3 separate regions of the Homo sapiens genome follow, and all the other regions are linked to region 3. The links are contacts of gene promoters, found by promoter capture Hi-C in blood cells and fetal thymus (Javierre and others, 2016). All regions are on one chromosome and are shown on one strand. The core of a region is centred on a gene start or on the middle of the fragment in contact, and the rest is flanking DNA. Distances in the headings are between cores, read along the strand shown.

Region 1 (2,700 bases), core at 152-2,651, 830 kb after region 3:
GCGTCTTGACAGGTGAGTAGGACTTCAACTGGACAGTGAGAGGGGAGACGTATTTCAGGCAGAGAGAAGAGAACATGCAAAGCTTGAAGGTACCTAAGTTGTTTGGAGAATGGTGGGGCATTCAGGAAGGTGAGAGCATGGGGTAAGTTGGGAGTGGTGGTGGAAGATATTAACAAGGCTGTCAGATCCCAAATGGGAGAAGACTTTGTACATCATCCCAAACAATTGGAAAGTTGTATAGTGTCATATGTAAAATGTTTATTTAGAAACAGAATGCTTGTTCCCCAGTGCCATAAAGAAATAGCACTCAAACATAAATTTAATTATCTCAGCAAGGCAATTTTTACTTCTGCAGAAAGGGTGTTCATCACAGATGGAACAATGGCAAGAGCACACCTGAACAAAGGAGGGAAGAAGCAATTTTTATCCCTTATGCAGTTTGTCCCTGCTACTGTGTCTGTCTCCATTGGCTGGAGCCAGACTTTACAATCTAAACTAAATCCCGACTGGCTAATAATTTAAAACTTTTCTAAATAGGTAAAAGCAATGGAAAACAGAGGAAAAGAGGAAGTTGCTTACAAAAGGACTTAGAAAAGTAATAACATTCCCAAATAAGGAAGGGGTATAGGCTGCAAGCTGGGACATGCCTGTGAGCACATCCAGCACAGATATCTTGGTTAAAGTACAAGGACGTAGAATGTACTATGTGCCTGTGAGCGTGTCTAACACCTACATAGGATAGGGCTTAACAAAGAGTTATTAGCATAAAGTAAGGAGGCTTGAAGGAAGTTAGTCTTTAAAAGAAACTATTTTTAACACTTAAGATTTATTCTTTAACAAGAAGGGAAACTTTGAAGACGAACTTTTACTTTCTTCATATAAGGAACTTGAGGCCAAGTTGAGGGCCTGGAAAAGCATCTGAAAGGAATGGGAGTGGGGAGCTTATTAAGGATAAGCAGAGAGTTAACAAGGAATAATGAAGGCTCAGCTGAATTGGGAACAATGAATTTATAGCAGTGTCATTGGCATGATTGGGTGAAATGTCCAGATGTGCCAGGTGGCTGAGTGTAGGGGGTAAGAAATCATGCACAATTAATCTTGGGCTGAGGAATTTTGCAGGGGATGAGGTGGAAGGATGGAGGTGAGGAAGTTGAGAGAGGGATTACTCAGAGTAAGCATAGAGGTGGATCTAGTCATGTTGACTTGGAGAAGACTCAGCAACTACTCCCCAGGGCTAACTCTGAGCCCAGTTTGGAGAACACAGATGTGACTGGAGAAGCCCCGTGCATCCTCATTTTTGACTCAAGCTATTGTACCACCTTCCCAAGAGGTCCCCACCTCCTCCAACACATCCACGATGAATGTGAGCCAAAGTAGATTTCAAATTTTTTTTTTTTTTTGAGATGCAGTCTGGCTCTGTCGCCCAAGCTGGAGTGCAGTGATGTGATCTCAGCTCACTGCAACCTCTGCCTCCTGGGTTCAAGTGATTCTTCTGCCTCAGCCTCCCGAGTAGCTGGGACTACAGGTGTGCACTACCACACCTGACTAATTTTTTTATTTTTAATAGAGATGGGATTTCACCATGTTGGCCAGGCTGGTCTCGAACTCCTGACCTCAAGTGATCTGCCCTCCTCGGCCTCCCAAAGTGCTGGGATTACAGGCATGAGCCACCATGCCCAGCCATAAACTTCAATTTCTAAAGAAAGAGGAGTAGCCATTGAAGCCTCGAAATGAGATGATGGTGCCAATGGCAGAAACTCACTCGATTGACCCGTGGGCTGGATTATGGGGGGAAACAGGTGAGCCCCTGATGAACTTGCTTCTTTCATCTTCTCTATTCTCCTTTTTACTCAATACTCCAGCCACATTGGTCTTCTCTCTGGTCCTCCAGCACTCCTAGTGCATGCCCATCTCAGAGTCTGCATTGTGCCTGCAATGATTTCTTCCAGATACACAGGGTACCTTCTCATCATGCAAGTCTCAGCTTAAATGTCACCTCTTCAGAAAAGCCCTCTCTGACCATCTGCTCAGAAGCAGTCCCATCCAGTGACTCTCCTTTGCTGTTATCACCACTTGAAGTTTGCAATTAGTGCATTTCTATGTGTACCTCCTGCTTTCCCCATTAGAATGTGTCTTAGTTCATGTCAGCTGCTGTAACAAAAATACCATAGACATTGTGGCTTAAAGAACAAAAATGTATTTCGCACAGCTCTGGAGGGTGGGAAGTCTAAGTTCAAGGCACCCACAGATTCCATGTCTGGTGAGGGCTGTCTTCTGGTTCATGGAAGGCGTCTTCTTGCTGTGTCTTCGAATGACAGAAGGGTGGAGGGAGCTCTCTGGTGTGTCTTTTATATGGGCACTAATTCCATTCATGATGGCTCTACCCTCATGACCTAATCACCTCCCAATACTATCCCATTGGGGGTTAGGATCTCAAGATATGAATTTGGTTGGAGTGGGGAGGGGACATAAACATTTAGTCCATAACAGAATGTAAGTGCTTTGAGGACGAGAGCCATGTGCCTGGTACTCAGTAGGTACTCAGTCAATATCTGTGGAATGAATGAATACATCGGTGATTTTGATAGGACAAGTGGTTTGAGAGGGAAATGCTTAGGCTGGTGAATGAGTGATAACAGGCACTGATAGGGAAGAGAATAGGGGCATACACATTTCAAATGTGGAACAAACAGTTGGGGG
Region 2 (2,700 bases), core at 96-2,595, 860 kb after region 3:
ACACCCTGCATATAACAAAATCCACTGATGCTGAAGTCCCTTATATAAAATGGCATAGTATTTGCATATTAGCTATGCACATTCTCCTGTATACTTTAAATCATTTCTAGAGTACTTATAATACTGAACACAGTGTAAATGCTCTGTAAATAGTTGTTATACTTTATTTAAAAATTTGTATTATTTTTATTGTTGTATTGTGATTTTTAATTTTTTTAAAAAACAATTATATATTTATTTATATATTTTAAATAAAAAGAAAGAAATGGAGATATATGAACTTTCTGACAAAGAATTCAAAAATAATTGTTTTAAGGAAGTGCAGCAAACTTTAAGAAAATACAGAGAAACAATTCACCAAAATCAGAAAGACAATAAATGAACAAAATTTGAAATTTAACAGAGAGATTGAAATTATAAAAAAACTCTAGAAATTCTCAAGATGAAAAATACAATGAATGAAATGAAAAATGCAATCTAGAGTGTCAACAGCAGGATTGATAAAGCAGAAGAAATAAAGCAGAAGAAATAATCTATGAACTTGAAGACAGATTATTAGAAAACATACACTCAGAGGAGAAAAACAGAATAAAAAGGAGTGAAGAAAACTTATGGGATTTTATGGGGCAGCATAAGGAGGGTAAATATTTGAATTAACAGGAATCAAGAAAGAGAAGGAATGAACAAAGAGACAGAAAGCTTATCAAAAAAATAACTGAAAACTTTCCAACTTTCAGGAAAGATATAAATATCCAGATATCAACAGAATAATCTTTGATCATGAGGACTGAAAAGAATTTAGATTATAAAAGATGTAAAGGAATTGATGATCAAGTAAATACACATATTGTTCAATCATCTGTATTTTGTGTTATGATTACATTTGTTAAAGGGGGAAATATTTTTTGGACAATGTAAGTAGTCATATTTGTAGGTAACACTAGAATTTTCAAATAGAAACAGCAAGATGATACAATAAAATAATATAGACCATGACACCAAATCTTTCACTCAGATCAACAAACCTCATTACACATGAATAACAAGCTTCCACACTTCAATGAGTAGATGTACATCATTGAAAACAAACCTTCCATAGAAATTTAGTACATAATTGAAAATGTTACTCTATCATATTTAACGTCATCTCTAACTCTAAGTCCATGTAAAGCCAATTGATTTTTGCCAGTTTGTCTTTCTGTGTAGACTATGCTTGGAGCATTTATTTGATGAGCAACTTTTGACTAAGTACTCAGTGCCAGTAAATATAGTAGAATTCATGAATACTGAGTTCAAGAAGAGAACAGGATCCTAATGGGAGTGAAAAATCCCATAACCAGCTATAAAATACCCTAGTATGTTTAAGTCTACATTATCAGGAAGATCAATTAAGGTAGTGATACAGAAATGAATGACAAACACAAAAAGTGAAAAACCATAGCCTCAGAAATTCTTCTCCAATAAAATTACATAAATGGCCTCAGTGCCAAGCGTAGTTTATTCCATAGGAATAGTACAACTCATCACCCTATGAGGCAAATGGGAATCTCCAAATTGTTTCTGACCCAAGGTTGGGAATAACTTTGAGAAAGGAGGAAAACAAGGGGAAAATCTGTTGAATATTAGAGAGAGAGGAAAGCTTAATAATAGGAGTTGCTTAAATTTGATGAAGCAGTTGAGATAAAAGAAATGGAAACTTCAGGAAATAAATAGAGCAATTTCCAGCCCGGCGCAGTGGCTCACGCCTGTAATCCCAGCACTTTGGGAGGCAGAGGCGGTTGGATCACGAGGTCAGGAGATCAAGACCATCCTGGCTAACATAGTGAAACCCCGTCTCTACTGAAAATACAAGAAATTAGCCGGGTGCGGTGGTGGGTGCCTGTAGTCCCAGCTACTCGGGAGGCTGAGGCAGCAGAATAGCATGAACCCAGGAGGTGGAGCTTGCAGTGAGCGGAGATGGCGCCACTGCACTCTGGCCTGGGCAGCAGAGCAAAACTCTGTCTCAAAAAAAAAAAAAAAAAAAAAAAAGAGCAGTTTCCACTTCCATGATCTGATTAAACAACAGCAATATCTGGCTCTGAGGCTTTGAGCCTTGCAATCATGGATATAGCTTCAGCCCTAGGACAACTGGCCCTTTTCTAGTTTCCCTCCCAAAGAATTCTTCAGAGCCCTCTTTATGTCCTTATTCCTCAGGCTGTAGATGAAGGGGTTCAGCATGGGGGTGACCACAGTGTACCTCACTGAGGCTATTGCACCTGAGTGTGAGTTGTGGGATGCAGCCGAGCTAAGGTACACTCCTAGGCTTGTACAGTAAAACAAGGAGACAACTGAGAGGTGAGACGGACAGGTGGAAAATGCCTTATACTTCCCTTGAGCTGATGAGATTGCACATATGGAGGAAACTATCTTAGAGTAAGAGTAAAGGATCCCAGCGAGACATCCCCCCACCCAGCAGCACAGCTGCCAGATACATCACCATGTCATTAAGAAAGGTGTCAGAACAGGCAAGGTGGATGACCTGATTAAGTTCACAGAAAAAGTGGGGGATTTCCAACTCTCTGCATAAGGACAACTGCAGCACCATTAAGCTATGTAATAAGGAATGCAAGACACTTGTGATCCAGGATACCAGAACCAGCAATCCACAGAGTTGAGGGTTCATGATGACCGTGTAGTACAGGGGGTGACAGATGGCCACAA
Region 3 (2,700 bases), core at 189-2,688:
CCTCAGAATGTGACCTTTGGACACAGGGAGGGGAACAACACACACTGGGGCCTGTTGGGGTAGGGCAGGGGTGGGGAGAGCCTCAGAAAAATAGCTAATGTATGCCAGGCTTAATACCTAGGTGATAGGTTGATAGGTGCAGCAAAGCACCATGGCACACATTTGCCTGTGTGACAAACCTGCACATCCTGAGCATGTACCCTGAAACCAAACTAAACTAAACTAAAATAAAATAATGTGACCTTAGGTGGCAATAGAGTCTTTTACAGATGTCATTAAGGTAAGGATCCAAAAATGAGATCAGCTGGGTGTGGTGGCTCACACCTATAATCCCAGCACTGTGGGAGACCAAGGTGGGTGGGGCGGGGGATTGCTTGAATCCAGGAGTTCGAGACCAGCCTGAGCAACATGGCAAAACCCCATCTCTACAAAAATTAGCTGGGCGTGGTGCTGTGTGCCTGCGCTAACAGCTGCTTAGGAGGCCAAGTGGGAGGATCAGTTGAGCCTGGGAGGTCGAGGCTGCAGTGAGCTGTGATCGTGCCACTGCACTCCAGCCTGGGTGACAGAGCGAGACCCTGTCCAAAAAATAATAATAATAAAAATAAAAATGAGATTATTCTGAATTAGGTTGTTTACTAAATCCAACAACTGGTGCCCCTCAAAGACGAGGGGAGGACACACAGAGGAAAAGGTCGCGTGAAGAGAGAGGCAGAGATTGGAGCGATGCAGCTACAAATCAATCAATGCCTAGAGCACCCAGAAGCTGGAAGAGGCAAGGCATCTTCTCCCTTAGAATCTTCAGAGGGAGAGTAGCTTTGTAGACGTCTTGCTTTAAGACGTCTAGCCTCCAGAACCCTGCAAGAATGCATTTATCTTGTTTTAAGCCACAAGGTTTGCGGCACTTTGAAATGGCAGCTACAATAATCTCATACAAGCGCACACAACTGCACACACACACACACAGTGAAGGCAGGAGTACACATGGGTGATGCCTAAGTACACCCACATGCATGGTGACACACTCAATGTCACCCGCTTGGCTCAGAACCACCCTCCTCCACAACTTAGTATAGAGACCACTCCCCACCCCAGCATGGACCCTGGTGGCCACGACTGCTGTGGAAAGGGGGCTGCTCTAGGCAGTAGGTGGACTCTATGGGGGACTTGGAGTGAGGACAGGCTGATCCAGCCTGGAGTCAGGTGGCTGAGGCTATAGAACCCCTACTCCATATCATCCCATGCTCCCTCTCGTTTCTTTTCCCAAACCTGTGCCTCCCTCTGTTCCAATTTTCCCTGCTTCTCTTGCCTTCTCCCTTCCACCTCCCAGTACTCTTGCCACTTCATCCTGGAAAGCAGGTTTGGAAATAGACGACTCCACTTACCTTCATCAGAGACCTTTAGGGACGCCTTGCAGCCAGGCCTGTAATGGCCCTGGGCACAGTGCACCCAGGGTGAGAGCTTCATCTCTGCAGGCGTCTTCCCCAGTGGCACGTTCCCAGAGGTGTCTTGAGGAGCCTGCCTGGGATGCAGGATGCAGGGTAATCGAAGTCCAAGGAGGGAGGCGGGGGACCTTGGGATTGCCCTCTCCATTCCTGCCTCCCTCCTTCCTTTGCTGCTTCCCTCCCTCTTTTCTTCCTTCTCTTCCTTCCTTCCTCTCTTCTTCCCTTCTTCCATCTTTCCTCCCTTCCTCCTGCCTGGGACCCCTTCCACCACTACTCACTCTCACTTATCTCAGTCCTGTTCTCATTTGAGGTTTCAGTTTTTACATCACCTCCTCCCTAAAGATCTCACCATCAAACCCTGACACCACCATCAAACCCTGACACCACCACCACCACCACCCCCTGCGGCTAGCGAGGCTGGGCTGGGCTGCCCCAATTCCAAGCATTTTGGAAAAATGGGACTGGATTCTGGGTGATGTTTCCCAGGATGGTGTCTCTTCTCAACAGATATCAGGAAAGGGATCTGGAGAGACACAGAGGTGTGATTCTCAGAAGAAGCATCCTCTATGGTTGCCTCTGGGAACACAAAGCCCACAGAGGGCAGGGAACAAGGCCAAGGTCACACGGTAGGTTCCTGCAGCAAGCCCAGATGGAGTGGAGGGGCCAAGAGCTCCAGCTCTGCCTCTTCCTCCCCATAAACTTGACAGGGTGCATCATGACCCAGGTATCAACACCTTCAGAATCTCCCAGTTCCCCATAACTCCAGAAACAGTCCAACAAAGATTTCAGATACTGGAATTATCAGGCAAGGACTATGAAACAATATTGCTTACGAAGTTTAAATAACGAAATGTAATTTTGGAAATATCTTCAAGGATAAAGCATTGTAAAGAGCGGCAGGGTTGATTTGAAAAAAAAGATATATAATTTTTAGAACCAAAGCTACAATATTAATATCCCAGGAGAAGTTTAATGCATGTCAGACACAATTGAAGAGAGAATTAGTGAGTTGGGGGCCGGGCGCGGTGGCTCATGCCTGTAATCCCAGCACTCTGGGAGGCTGAGGCAGGTGGATCACTTGAGTTCAGGAGCTCAAGACCAGCCTGGCCAACATGGCGAAACCCCATCTCTACTCAAAATACAAAAATTAGTCAGATGTAGATTCTGGATATTAGCCCTTTGTCAGATGAGTAGATTGCAAAAATTTTCTCCCATTCTGTAGGTTGACTGTTCACTCTGATGGTAGTTTCTTTTGCTG

Evidence for each region. Contacts are between HindIII fragments. The CHiCAGO score rates a contact against its expected background, and 5 or more counts as called.
Region 1: a contact is called between a fragment that was not itself captured here and the fragment with the promoter of OR10H5 in region 3, in 1 of 17 cell types (M1 macrophages). The highest score is 5.8, in M1 macrophages.
Region 2: a contact is called between a fragment that was not itself captured here and the fragment with the promoter of OR10H5 in region 3, in 1 of 17 cell types (M2 macrophages). The highest score is 5.1, in M2 macrophages.

What each region holds. Positions count from the first base shown.
Region 1 is chr19:14,957,111-14,959,810 of GRCh38, reverse strand. All of the region lies in intron 6 of SLC1A6 (solute carrier family 1 member 6), which reads left to right. Among named protein-coding and RNA genes, the nearest start is that of OR7C2, 17 kb to the right of the region's middle. The HindIII fragment of the contact is 2,634 bases long and covers 85-2,700 here.
Region 2 is chr19:14,927,479-14,930,178 of GRCh38, reverse strand. It overlaps the pseudogene OR7A15P. Among named protein-coding and RNA genes, the nearest start is that of OR7C2, 13 kb to the left of the region's middle. The HindIII fragment of the contact is 592 bases long and covers 1,050-1,641 here.
Region 3 is chr19:15,786,399-15,789,098 of GRCh38, reverse strand. It overlaps OR10H5 (olfactory receptor family 10 subfamily H member 5), which reads right to left and starts at 1,438. Exons shown (of 2, transcript NM_001004466.2): 1 at 1,383-1,438. The HindIII fragment of the contact is 16,043 bases long and covers 1-2,700 here.